Regions from separate parts of the Homo sapiens genome. Here regions 1, 2, 3 and 4 are each linked to region 5. The links are contacts of gene promoters, found by promoter capture Hi-C in blood cells and fetal thymus (Javierre and others, 2016). All regions are on one chromosome and are shown on one strand. The core of a region is centred on a gene start or on the middle of the fragment in contact, and the rest is flanking DNA. Distances in the headings are between cores, read along the strand shown.

Evidence for each region. The method cuts DNA at HindIII sites, captures the fragments that hold promoters and counts their contacts. A CHiCAGO score of 5 or more calls a contact.
Region 1: a fragment that was not itself captured here is called in contact with the fragment with the promoter of TFAP2A-AS1 in region 5 in 1 of 17 cell types (M2 macrophages); the score reaches 5.0 in M2 macrophages.
Region 2: a contact is called between a fragment that was not itself captured here and the fragment with the promoter of TFAP2A-AS1 in region 5, in 1 of 17 cell types (M0 macrophages). The highest score is 5.5, in M0 macrophages.
Region 3: a contact is called between a fragment that was not itself captured here and the fragment with the promoter of TFAP2A-AS1 in region 5, in 1 of 17 cell types (M2 macrophages). The highest score is 6.5, in M2 macrophages.
Region 4: a fragment that was not itself captured here is called in contact with the fragment with the promoter of TFAP2A-AS1 in region 5 in 1 of 17 cell types (M1 macrophages); the score reaches 6.0 in M1 macrophages.

The regions. Positions count from the first base shown.
Region 1 is chr6:10,021,024-10,023,723 of GRCh38, reverse strand. It overlaps the pseudogene OFCC1. Among named protein-coding and RNA genes, the nearest start is that of TFAP2A-AS2, 380 kb to the left of the region's middle. The HindIII fragment of the contact is 8,032 bases long and covers 1-2,700 here.
Region 2 is chr6:10,078,907-10,081,606 of GRCh38, reverse strand. It overlaps the pseudogene OFCC1. Among named protein-coding and RNA genes, the nearest start is that of TFAP2A-AS2, 320 kb to the left of the region's middle. The HindIII fragment of the contact is 3,027 bases long and covers 1-2,700 here.
Region 3 is chr6:10,043,342-10,046,104 of GRCh38, reverse strand. The region is part of intron 1 of LOC105374919 (a long non-coding RNA gene); the gene reads right to left. It also overlaps the pseudogene OFCC1. Among named protein-coding and RNA genes, the nearest start is that of TFAP2A-AS2, 360 kb to the left of the region's middle. The HindIII fragment of the contact is 3,914 bases long and covers 1-2,763 here.
Region 4 is chr6:10,062,708-10,065,407 of GRCh38, reverse strand. It overlaps the pseudogene OFCC1. Among named protein-coding and RNA genes, the nearest start is that of TFAP2A-AS2, 340 kb to the left of the region's middle. The HindIII fragment of the contact is 295 bases long and covers 1,234-1,528 here.
Region 5 is chr6:10,410,987-10,413,686 of GRCh38, reverse strand. TFAP2A-AS1 (TFAP2A antisense RNA 1) reads right to left here and starts at 1,369. Exons shown (of 3, transcript NR_033910.1): 1 at 1,320-1,369. All of the region lies in intron 1 of TFAP2A (transcription factor AP-2 alpha), which reads left to right. RefSeq lists a silencer at 770-1,129. The HindIII fragment of the contact is 20,769 bases long and covers 1-2,700 here.

The DNA.
Region 1 (2,700 bases), core at 170-2,669, 390 kb after region 5:
GGATGTCCCTGGATGATCTCTACCATAAGGAATCACTAATGTCTTGGCCACTGTGGTATTACTGTCATCTCCATGACCATCATGGTTGAAAAACTCATTTTATTAGTGAGTGGTTGTAGCCTCATTCACTCCCACACATTCATTCATTTATTCTTTCAGCCAATACTTCAATAACACTCAGCATATGACATGCCTGATGACAGGCACACTGTCTCTGCCCTTGAAGGACTCAGTGAGGTGGAGGAGACACAGGAAAACCCCAAAATACAGGAACATTATAAGCACTGTGATTGCTGTGTGAGGATGATGATGGTGAGGGCACAGGAGAGGAACTCTTCAGTGACAAGAAGTCAGGCAACACTTTAGCAAGGATTAGGTATTTGAACTGAAACTCAAATGACGTCCAGAAGTTTGCCAAACACACAAGGTAGTTGAGTGCAGCCTAGGCAGCAGGAACAGCATGAGAAGAGGTTAAAGAGTCACAGCTGCAGGAGGTACAACATAGCCAGAGCCTTGAATGGTCAAGGGCGTGGTGGGAAGGAGGCTTGAGAGGCAGGGCTGGGCTGTTGAAGGGCCTTAGAAACCATAGTAGGGAGTGAGGTCTTGGCTATGTAGATGCTGAGCAGGAGTGTAAGTTTTTAAGTAGAGGAGTGACCTGATCATATTTATGTTGTAGGAAAAGTGTTTCTGCAGAAGTGTGGAGAATTAATTTGAGGGGAAGGCAGAGGTGGTGGGCCCACTGTGTAACCAGGGGCCACGAGGCCAGGCCAGGTATCACAATCAGTGAGGGTGGGAGAGTGCTGGTCTAAATGCTTTACAACAGGTTCTCCAAAAGAAAAGGTAAATTGCAGGTTTGTAGCATTTGTTGATTTTTTATGGTGTAAACATTGTCACCATGTTCGATTTCAAGCTACAGACACACTGTCGCTACTGAACACACAGCCGCATGCCATTATATAGTATTTCCACCAGACACAATGGGGCAGGATGATCTCAAGCGCATAGGTAATAGTAAACTGGAGTAAAATAATTAGGAGGTGATGAGTTTTAACCATTTAATGCCTTTTTAATCTAATTTATTTAATTTTAAGTTTGTGTAATTTAATTTTTCTCTTTTTCTTTGAGATACAGTCTCTCCCTGTCACCGAGGCTGGAGTGCAGTGATATGATCTCAGCTCACTGCAACCTCCACCTGCTGAGCTCAAGTGGTCCTCCCACCTCAGCCTCCGAAGTAGCTGGGACTGCAGGTCCGTGCTACCATGCCCGGCTAATATATTTCATGAGAATTTAACAATCCATTTTCCTGCCTGGTACAAAGGTCTAGCCAACTACTAAATGGGAGAAAAATAGAAATTTTTAAAAAGCGTTGTTTATGATTGGACAGCTGAGTATATTAACCAAAATAGAAGGAAGTTAAAGGAAGAACATATATCTGGTGGGAAGATAATGAGCACATCCCAGTAGAGTGAAGTTAATTTGGTGAGCGTTTATGAATACCTGTATATTCGAGGAACTCTGCTAGGCTTGGACATAGAATAGTGAACGGGAAGAACAGCAAGTACACAGTTCCTTTTCTCAAGGAAACTGCAGCTAAAGGCTCTAGACAAATAAACAGGTTTTTATAAAAGTTGTATGATACGATTAGCTTGGGATGATACGAGAGTACCTTTGTATAGAACCCAGACTTGTGGGTGGGGTTTTGGAGTATGTACCAGAGGAAGTGACATTACACTGAGACCAGAGAACAAGTAGGCTTGGTTCTGATGGTGAGCATTCCAGGCCAGACAGCATGAAGGGGATGGGGAAAATGACACAGGTCATTGACCAAGGCGAGGAAAAAGGGAGAGGGTTTGATAGAGAGTTAGGATGTCAAAGTGGTAGGAATTGGTGTTTGATTAAAGATGAGTGAGAAGTTTGGGAGGCTGAGGCGGATGGATCACTTGAGATCAGGAGTTCGAGGTCAGCCTGATCAACATGGTGAAATCCCTTCTCTTCTAAAAATACAAAATTAGCCAGGTGTGTTGGCGCAGGTGTGTAATCCCAGCTACTTGGGAGGCTGAGGTGGGAGAATTGCCTGCATCTGGGAGGCAGAGGTTGTAGTGAGCTGAGATAGTGCCACTGCACTCCAGCCCAGGCAACAGAGTGAGACTCCATCTCAAAAAAAGAAAAGAAAAAAAGGTGGGCAGGGCATAGCTGAACAAAAGGCAGCAGACAACTTCTGCAGACTTAAATGTCCCTGTCTGACAGCTCTGAAGAGAGCAGTCATTCTCCCAGAATGGCATTCAAGCTCTGAGAACGGACAGATTGCCTCTGCAAGTGGGTCCCTGACCCCTTTGTAGCCTGACTGGAAAACACCTCCCAGTAGGGACCGACAGATGCCTCATACAGGCAGGTGCACCTCTGGGAGGAAGATTCCAGAGGAAGGATTAGGCAGCAAAATTTGCTGTTCTGCGGCCTCCGCTGGTGATATCCAGGCAAACAGCGTCTGGAGTGGACCTCCAGCAAACTCCAGAAGACCTGCAGCTGAGGGGCCTGACTGCTAGAAAGAAAAAAAAAAAAAGGTGAGTGAGAAAGATTCTGTGCTGCTTATAGGAAATTTAAGTGGAAATTTTCTAGAGGAAGATAGAAACATGGGTTTGGTATTTCATAGACAAGTTTTTGTGGTTTTTCGTTTTGTTTTGTTTTGTTTGAGATGGAGAT
Region 2 (2,700 bases), core at 144-2,643, 330 kb after region 5:
GAAAGGTGATCTCTGTTACAAAGTGGCAAAGAGCTTGGCTGAACTGTGTTGGTATCCTAGTGTTCAGTGGACGGTAGTGCTCGTGGATGGTGAAATTGAATATTTGGGAGAAGAATCCTCTAAGCACAGTGCTGTGGGTGCTGCACGGCTTCTCTTGACTGCTTATAGGAAATGCGAGGAGACAGAAAAGATTCAAAGACAGAATTTATCATCAAAAGGGAAGCAGAAGTTAAAGATGCAGAAAATTCTCAGCCTGCCGATATTGTAACAAATGAGAAAGCATGTTCGGGAGAGCACACCAAAGGTGTGAGTAAGGAGATTAGTATGTACCAGCCACATGCTATTCATCAAGACAATAGAAGAGTGACTCTTAAGGCATTTTAAAGATCTGTGGGGCTGCCACTCCCATCACAAGTCCAGAGTGCCAGGGCCTCAAGGACAGGACCGTTTCAAAGGAGAGGACCAGGGTGCCTGTGGGATCTCAGGGCTCTCTGCCCAGCGCCACCTTAAAGCTCTGCTCCCTACTTGTCAGCAGTAGTCCTCGGCTGCCCTAGGTTTGGTTCGAGCAAGCCGTGGTACAGTGGTGGCTACTCCTCCAGAGAGCACAGGCAGTAAATCTTGGTGGCATTTGCATGGTGCCATCTTCACATCTTCACTGGTTTGCAGAGTGCATGGGCCATGGGAGTGTGGCTGCCTCCAAAAAGATTTCAAATGATGCCCAGGAGAGTCTTGGGGCTCAGAGAGCTGAAATGGGCTCCTCTCAGTAGCCGCCTTGATATAGTGGCTCCCAGATCCAGAGCTGCTACAGCTATGCTACAGCTATAACAAGGGGATATAGCTGTGTACTGATTGCACAATCATTTTTCAGTTCTGGCACTATAATTCCCCAAAAGAAGCAACCCCTCTTGTAATGTGTTTAATTTTTTTTTTTTTTTTTTTGAGATGAAGTTTCACTCCTGTCGCCCAGGCTGAAGTGCAGTGGTGCGATCTTGGCTCGTTGAAACCTCTGCCTCCTGGGTTCAAGCAATTCTCCTGCCTCAGCCTCCTGAGTAGCTGGGATTACAGGCAGCCACCACCACACTCGGCTAATTTTTTGTATTTTTTTTTTAGTAGAGACAAGGTTTTGCCATATTGGGTAGGCTAGTCTTGACCTCCTGACCTCAGGTGATCTGCCTGCCTCGGCCTCCCAAAGTGCTGGGATTACAGGCAGAAGCCGCCGTGCCTGGCCTAATTTCTATAACTATGTGGTTGTTATAATTTTTTCCCCATAAAAATAGCATTAATAAAACTTCAGAAAGAAAATTTTAAAAAACCTCTAGCTTACAAAATATTCTAGCAAAAGATATATCAAATACATTTTCTTGTGAAGAGGTAAGAATCACTGAGTTTCCTTCTGAAACAAAAATCTGATCTATCTTTTCCTCAGTGCATTTGTATTTTCATTTATCAAAACAATATGCATACATCAAAAGTGTAGTTAGGAAGCCCATTCATAACCAGTATTCAACAGTTATTGTGCATGTAAAGAAGTCTACTATCCCCTGAACTCAAAGCACTCTTCAGAATTTATTGAGCATGGAAGAATAAATTTTTTACTACAGATAAAATGGCAAAACAGGAAACATTAAAGAAATCTTTTTTACACCTCTAATCGCTATTTCTTTCTGGCAGCTATCTCTTTGGAGAAAGATATCTAATGACCTCTCTTTACCAATCAGATTATTATCATAATGGGTTCATGTCCTAAAGACATCACATTAAAGTAGACGCAGTAGCTGAACTCAGATTTTATGGAATATAAATTTAGACATTTTCCTGCCTTACATGGTGAGTTTTAAAATAAAACATCAAGGCATCAAGAAAAAGTGCCACTTTATTCATGCAGACTAAACTTCTTGTTCTTCTTATCATATTTATGTTAACACACATGCTCACACACTTTCTCAATCAGGTAGTATTTGCAGGAGGCAAATACATTTCTTGTTCAAAATGTCTCTAGTTTATTGTAGTTTGTGGGCCCACAAATCGTTCAGCCCAAAGGAGTACAGGAAAAATGGGGAACAAGAACCACAGCTCTGCTTACGGAGGTTCACAGACACCCAGTCAGTACAAAATAATGAGGTGTACTTGCTTGTTTTGCCTAAAATGCAGCAGTGATATGGATTAGGAATGTTTAGTAGCCTTGTGGCCCTGCCAATGAGTAAAATACACATTCAAGGAGAAAATAAACTTCCTCTTGAAATACCTGCACTACTTCTGTTTAAACTGTTACACCATGAACCTGAATTCATCCTATGCCTAACAACATTTTTCAGGTAAATTAGGCTGCCTGATAGCTGATACCTACCAGTCACAAGAGGAAATATGCTCCAAGATGGAGAGAATGACCACTTGCCAAAAGACCACTTCCTGTCTTTATTAGACACCAGTGAGCCATTCTGGTTGGTAACTGCCCCTCACTGTGACGAATAGACTGGTTCGGAGTTCATTTTGCCAAATCAGCTTGGTGGTGCCCTCAGATTTTGCCAGTAGGAAACCAGTGTCTGCTCCTGCAGGAACCAATTTGTTCCTTCATGGAACTAAAACCACTGTTGCTTTCAGTGGATCGTGGGAATTGGAAATAAATACTAGGTTACACTACTAGTGAGAAAATGCACACATGCGCACGCGTGCATAAATATATTAACACATGCATGCACA
Region 3 (2,763 bases), core at 98-2,597, 370 kb after region 5:
AAAGGCAATATTTACTACAGATAAAATTTTAAAAGTAGAAAACACAAACAAAAAGAAGGCATACTTGTCTGAAATGAGTTAACAACAAACTAAACAAAAATGAGAGAGTTTGTGTATGGGAGGGCAAAGATTTTCTGAAAAAAGAAAATGATTAAAAATTAATGAAAGTTACAAAACTTTGCATGCATCTCTGCTGCATGAAAATCTCTTATACTTGAAGATCAAATGATCAGGAAACATAGGTTATCTATTTTCATGTGTTCCAGAGGTTTCTCATGTAGGCCATATAGTTTTGGCATGACAAGTTCTAATTCCTCTTTTACAATCTAAGTTCAGTGATGCTTTTATTATCATAAAAGTCAATATCAATTTTTTTCCAACTGGGCATCTTGTTTCTGATTATATGAAACATTCTTTTATTACTTAAAAGTATAGCAGAATTTTAGAAATGTTCCCAAAATAGTGAACTAAACCCTTGAAAAACTGTGATAGCCTCTTGTTAAGAATCACACAACAGTGGAAATAAAAAATAAACAGGTGGTTCTTCAAATGCAGCCAAAAAAGGACTAACTGCGTTTAACAGAGTTAAAACGCTCATGCATTTTCTGATTTAACAGATTGACCCTTCCTGGGGCTTTTATTTTACTTAATACTACAGAGTCAAACAGTATGTTTTATTAAGTATGGTACTCTGGCATTTTGTGGTATGTGTGCGTGTGTGTGTGTGTGTATGTGTGTTTGTGTATGCTTACAAGTTCAGTTCACTGTTTTGGCCAAATTATTTTCATAACCGTAGTATTTTTGACTAAACCACTTAGTTTTTCACTTTGCTGGTTAAGTGGTAGAGATGGAATACAAGCTATGGATCACCTGGCACAAAACCCCATGTGTTTCATGCTACAAAATGGATACTTGAATAGGATAATGAACCTTGGACTATGCTAAGTGAAATAAGCCAGTCACAGTGGACAAATATTGTAATTCCACTTCTATTAAAGGCACACAGAGCAGCCAAATTCATAGAGACAGAAAGTAGAATGGTGATTGCTAAGGGGTGGGGAGAGAGAAGGATGGAGAGTTAGTGTTTAATGCATACAGAAGCTCAGTTTTGGAGGATGAAATAATTCTAAAGTTGGATGGTGGTGGTAGGTGTTCAACATTGTGAACTTGCACAGAACTGTATGCTTCAAAATGGTTAAGTTGTAAAGTTCATATTGTGTTATTCAACTATAATTAAAAATGATTTAAAAGAAGCTCATGCATTTTCTGATTTAACAGGTTGACTCTTCCTGGGGCTTTTATTAATACACATTTGATAATATGTAATTTATTTTTATTTTAGCATATCAATTTTAAAGATCTCTGGAAATCAGTAGTTTAATTCATGAGAATATTCAACATATAGTCCCAACTTGAGATAATTTCTGAAGAGTCTAAAATGGTGATTACCATTGGATTGGAAACTAAATCAAGGTCATATATAAAAACCTTAATGATTCCTTATGTGTGATTAGTGTTTGACAGTGTATAAAATGTTTGAGAGGGGAGCTAATTTTTAAAATTGTCACAATAAACTCATGAGTATTATCTGTATTTTTATGGATTAGAAAATGGAGGCAGAGAGATAAAATATCCCATAGAGATAAGTGAGTCTTCTGACTCCACTGCTAGTAGTTACCATTTAGCCAAGGAGAGAGAAGAAATGAACTAACAAGCATGGCGGCCTTACCAAAAGCAACACCAAATCCTGACTATGGCCTCTTTAGGGAGCGGGACTCACATATTAGGGCACATTAAACATACTTGCAGGACAAGGGCCATGGTGCAGGAGGGCAGAAAACACACAGGGAAGAAGGGTGTGAGGGGATATACATGGGGTCAGTCCATGTTAAGTCTGATTTTTGGAGCTTCCACTTTGTAAAACCTCCATAATGCACAGTAGCACCTAGGGGGATAATCCATTCAACTTAATAGTGAAGCCTTAAATTGATAATCAGCGAACTCTGTTTTGTCCCCTAGTTCCGTAACTGTTTTAGTGCTTGTAATCTTGCATCTCAAGAATCTTGCATTCTCTCTCTCACACACACACACACACACACACACACACACACACACACCCCTAAAGTAGACAACAAAATCCAAGCACCCCAAACACAGCCAACACAGAATAAACCCTCACTTTTGTGTCTGGATGGAATGTCTCCCCTTATGTGTGAGTCTGTTGTCTTTGTATTAGATGGTAAGTGCCTGGTAGGCGGGGACCCTGTCATTCTGGATTAAGTCTCCTATAGGCTTAGTGAGTCACCACAAGCCAGGGAGTGCTTATTAGACATTACTTGACTGACTGTTAAGACAAGTAATTAGGCCAGGAGAAATGCTAATTTTAAAATGTCTGTAAATTCCCGAACTTCACACGAGGAAAGTCCAGTGACCTGGGTTAGCTCTTGGGAATTAGTAATGTGATACAGAATCTTTCCCCTTTGTGTCACCTGTTACAATTTGGCCTCCCTTTTATGTGACTGGAAATCATTACCAGCAGGTAGCTCTACCCAGCCTGGTGTCTACAACCAGAGTGATGTGGAAGATCCTGGTGACATGGGGCAGGTAACAATCTGCATTTATCAATTTTCCTGGATTGTTCAGACAATTCGATCACTCCACGAAGGCCTGTGAGCCCATTTTGGTGGATCAGCATTGCGGTAGGTTACGAACTGAGTTTGAGGACAAACAAATCTTTCTTTTATCTAAGGCAAGGTCTACAAT
Region 4 (2,700 bases), core at 132-2,631, 350 kb after region 5:
AGGTGGAGAGTGCTCAAAAATTGATTAAATTGGTAATCGTATGGCAACTATTCTGAAGGAATGGCAAACTTTTTTGTTTCTAAACAGAAGAAAATTTCTCAAATAGTAATTTTATAACCTAATCACTTCAGAACAATATATATATTGAAATAAAGAAATACCATTCCAGGCATTGTTTAAGACATTAGAATCTACTGTCTTTGCATCCAAATATATGCCATCTTGGCTGGGCACAGTGGCTCACACCTGTAATCCCAGCACTTTGGGTGGCTGAGGTGGGCAGATCACTTGAGCTCAGGAGTTTGAGACCAGCCTGGGCAACATGGTGAAACCCCATCTCTACAAAAAAATACAAAAATTAGCCAGGCGTGGTGAGATGTGTCTGTAATCCCAGCAACTCTGGAGGCTGAGGTGGGAGGATTGCTTAAGCCCGGGAGGCAGAGGTTGCAGTGAGCTGAGATTGCGCCACTGCATTCCGGCCTGGGTGACAGAGTGAGGCCCTGCTGCAAAAACAAAAACAAAAAACCCATCCCCAAAACAAAAAAACAAAACAAATATATGTTATCCTTTCAAGAGTTTATACTTCCAATATAAACTTTATGTCAAAAAGGAAATCCTGTGAAAGTCCTATGGGAAACTTTTTAAGTTGAATAAGAAATATGTCTTATAATTCATTGCAGTACTTACTGTTTTTTATAATCTCATGATAATAAATGTATTAAGGACATAGTCTGTGTTCTAGGTTTTCCCACATGAAAAACTAAAACCAGTAGCCAGTTTCTTGGGTATAATTTCACTGTGTGCTCAGTTAAATAGATGTGTGTTGATGGCATTCTCTTTCATGTCACAACACATAAAATTAAATGTTTCAATTGCTTTGTTTTGCAAGCATTTACAGAAGGTAATTCTACCTGTACTTGTTAGTTTGTTCCCAGTGAAAAAAAATTATATATATATAATACATATATAGTAAATGCTGCTTTAAGTTTATTCTTTTGTATCTGAAAAATAATTACTTCACTATTTGGAATGACTTATAAAATAAAGCATCTGCAATATTTTTCTTCTGACTTGCATAAAAAGAAAAATGAATGTATTATTGTTCATATATTTTATTTGGGGTTTCAAAATTTTGATGTTTAGAGCAGTAGTTCTCAATTTCTTCGAACGCAGCACATGTGAAAGATGACATTAACGTATCTGACACCCTGTGGTTGGTGATGCAGATAAGCTTTGTTATTTCCCCCTGCAAATCCCTGCACGTTGACTGCAATTCCACAGATTTCTCTTCCTCTCCAGAAAGTGTATTTGAATGCAATCAATGAGACTGACCTTAATTAAAAGAATAATTTGCATATAAGCTAATTTCATAAAGAATTAACTCACTTGCACATTTTGTTTTTTGTTATTAATAGTGAATTATGGATGCCCAAATTATGGTGTTTGGTGACAACGGGTTTGAGGAAAAAAAATCAAAGGCAAAAATCTACCAGATATTTTAACAAATTGTAGAAATAGTTGAGAAGCTTAGAAGGGATTTTAAATTCTATAAAGTTTTGGATAAGTTGTGATGATAAGAAAAGAGAAGTTGTAAATTTCATGGGATGTAGGAATTCACCCTTTATTATGAGGTTACTTCATGTATTACGTGAGTCTACTCTAAAATTACCATTCCATTAGATGAAGGAAAGAGAAATAATCCAGAAATAATGGATTAATGCCTTTTAGGGCTTAATTTTTTAAAAGTCTTGATTAAATTGTGTTATAAAAGAAAATACTTTGCATTCATGGTTAATGAAAGAACAGACTCTACGTGTTCTTGTTTTAGTGTGATTACAAGTGTTCTTTCTGGAATGTCCCTTAGTCTCCATATAGGAAAATCCTATATTTCCTTTAGAACATCCTCACAACTCAAATAATTTTAGCCTTGGTGTACCCTGGGGGCTCTAAACTATATTAGCCAGTTGTCTACTCTTATGTCTACTTGGTTTTCTCAAAGGCAGCTCAAAATCAACAGGACCTATCTTTTCCCCCTCAAACTGGATCTTTGGCTGAGAACTGAATGGATGGCCCATAGGGACAGTGGACAGAGTTTCATTCCTGACTTGCTTCCTGGTAATTATCTTGGGCCATTTTTTCATCACCTCTTCCCTAGATCAAGGCATTAGCTTTCTATCCAGTCTCCATAGGTAGCTTGATTTCCATTTCAATTTTTAATGTCTTCTCCATATCCCAGCTAGAGTGACTGAGTTGAAGTATAAATACGATCATGCATGATCCTTCCTCCAGAGCCTGTGTTGTCAGAGTGTACACACAAGCACACACACACATACACACATTCACCCACACAAAACCTTTCAATGACTCCCCAGTTCTAAGATAATGACTAGAATCCTGAATACAATATGCAAGGTCCTGTGTGCCCTGCCTACTGGCCCCAAATTCATTTTGTGTTAGCTGTGTGTACTCCAGCCACACGAACTTTCTCTTGGACACTCTATGCTCCTGTTGGACTTGGTTTCCACAGATACTTTGTCCACACCCATGGGATTCCCCCTGCTTCTCCTCCCAGACTCTCCCTTGGTTAACTATTTATGGTTAACTCCTACTCACCCTTTAAAGCTCAACTTCCAGATCACTTTTTTAGTTGTCTTCTCTGACCCTCTAAATTAGTTTATCCTATACCGAATTCTCATACAC
Region 5 (2,700 bases), core at 120-2,619:
CCCGGTAGATGGGGACGGGGTGACATCCCACGGGTACTGGCTCTTCCCTGGGGGGGTCCTGTCGCGCTAGAGGAGGGGCGCAGGGACCCCACGTCAGACCAGTCGCTTTGTTTTCGAGGCTGGGGGCGAGCTTTGCGGGCAGGTAGGAATGAAGCCGAACCCCTCAGTCTCATAGGACAATTCATACTGTACTGGTCTGGGCTTTGGCCGGAGGCTTGGGCATTTCACTTTCGCAGAGGCCGAAACCCAGCTCCAGGTGTGGGCGCCCTCGGCGGGCGGGGTCCGAACCTCCGTGCGGCTCTAGGTGCCGACTGGATGGGGTGGGTGGCTAGGTGGGGGATGAACTTGCACCCCTAGAGGGATCCTGTGGGGGCAAGTGTGAATGCGTGTGTAAGCGAGGCAAAAAAAGATGAGAGAGAGAGGAGAATAAAGTCAAAGCTGTTTCCACAACTTTGGCCGTGGTGGGCAAGCGCCGGAGCGGGGATTTCGGGTTTCGGAGCTGGCTTGGGGCAGTCTGATTGTGCCGGGGCTCTGTAGGGACACGCAGGAGGCGAGGTGCCGCTTGTTCTGACAACCTGGCGGGTAGACTGGCAAAGGCAGCACGCCGGGAGAGCTAGTCGTGTCATCTGGGGGGGCGTCAGGCGGGAGTGGCCCAGCCAGTCGGACGGGTTTTTGCCGGGAGCCGCGAGCCGGTGCCAGCGGCGCCCGGGCTGGGCCGCCTAGCGTCTGTGCGCGCCCCGGCCCGCATCCCGGCTCCCGATCCGGAATCCCCGGCCCCAGAGAGCCGAGGGCAGAGCGACGGTGGCCGGGGAGCGCACGGTGCCCCTGTCCGAGGAAAGCTCAAGAGGAGGCCGAGGAGAGGACCAGTGCAGCGAGCGGGCCGGTCCCGGGCAGGGCGCCGGGTCATGGAGGAGCCGCGCAGCAGCGGGCAGCCGAGTCCCGAGTCCCAGACTCGGCTGCGAAGCGGCGGAGCCCGCGGCCAGACAGGGCCGGGAAGCGCCTGCCGCGCCGAGAGCCCCACGAGCGCCCGGACGCGGTCCCAAGCAGCTCCTACCCGCTACGCACGACCCCCGCTGCATCCCGAGGTCTGCCCCAGCCTTTTAGGTCTGATTGTCCTCGCTCGCTTCCTCTCCCCTTCCCCCTCCCCCGCGGCCTCCCCCTCCGTGCGCTCCGGCTGGGCCCCCTCCCCCTCCCTCCCTCCCTTCCTCCCTCCCTCTTTCCCTCCCTTCCTCCTCTCGGGCTCTCCCTCCTTCCCTCCCTCCCCTCTCCCCACCCGGGGCTCCTCTCCCTCGCCCACACTTTCTTTCTCACACACGCACGCAGACACATTCTCCCTCTCTGCGCTCTCTCCTTCGGTCTCCCTCTCTGCCTCTTTCTCTTTCACTTTTGCATGCCCTGCAACCTTTTAAAATGTTGCCCCTTCCCTGTGATTCGCCAGACGCCGCGCCGCGGCCCCCCGCGCGCTCGCCCGCTCCCTCTCTCGCTCGCTTTTTGTCTCTCGCGCTCCCTCTCCCCACTCCGATTTGCTACACTGAGACTCCCGTCAATGGACTGCATTGAGAGCCGGCTCCGGCGCGAGTTGCCTCTCCGCTTCACGCTCGATTTCCAGGCATTCTTCCCTTATTAAGTATTCGTGTAATATTAATAGTCATGAATATCTGCTATTAGGAGGCTCCAGGAACGCTGCCCAGCGCGGTTATTAGAAGCTCAAGCGAAGCCGCCGCTAAGAAAAGAGGGGGAGACACGGATTAAGGAACACGCACGCACCCACACACTCACACATACTTTTTCCTTTTTCCTTTTTTGGGGTTTTTCATTTTTAAAGAACTTTGAATCATAACCAGTCGCGGCAGGATAGAGACCGTGGGTTCGACCAGCTGAAGGCGCCGCGCGAATCGGTGGTTCAAGTTCGGATGGATCCGAGCCGGGCTCCCGCGCTCCGGGGAGCGTCGGCGCCGTGACTGGAGTCCTGGGTGGCGCGGGGCTCTCGGCGCCTTTTGTGTGGGGCGCGCTCGGGCGGCGGGGCAGCCGGGCGCTCCAGGCTTGCTTGTTTTTTTCCACCCTGACTCGTTACCCCAGACTCTTCGCAGATGTTAGTTCACAGTTTTTCAGCCATGGTGAGTCCCATCCCCACCCCCGTTGCTGTTTCTTTAGGAATTGGATTCTGGAAACCTGGTGCCGTGGAGCTGCCCGAAACCTCGGGTTTCACGCCCAGCTTTCCTTCAGGACACCCTCTCCATTTGCATCCCCCACCCCACCTTCCGCCTTTCTCTCGCTCTTTTCCATCCCTAAATCGAGTGCATTACCCCCTACCCCAGCCCCCGCTCGACCTCTCCGAGCACGCAGACCTACCTCGCCGCGGCTTCCCAAGGCGTGTTTCTCCCCACGTTCATCTTGATTTCCTTGAGTCTTCACTTGTCCCCGAGATGTTCTCAACATTTGATGCTTAAACTGTCTGCAGGAAAAGTGCAGCGCGGTGTGCCCCCTACCCTCGGGACCTGCGGCCGAACCGCCGAGGGTTCGCGGTCTCTGGAATCAACTCTCTTCGCTTGTTTTGCAAGGGAATTGCAATAGAGAAACCTAAAGTCAGGCGTTTCTTCTGCCCTTTGGGGCTGGGGTGGAAGGGGCGGGGGGGGGGGGCCACAGCCCCGGGGTGCACCTCTCTCTTTTAAACCCAATAAGGCTGAATCTTTCTATTTT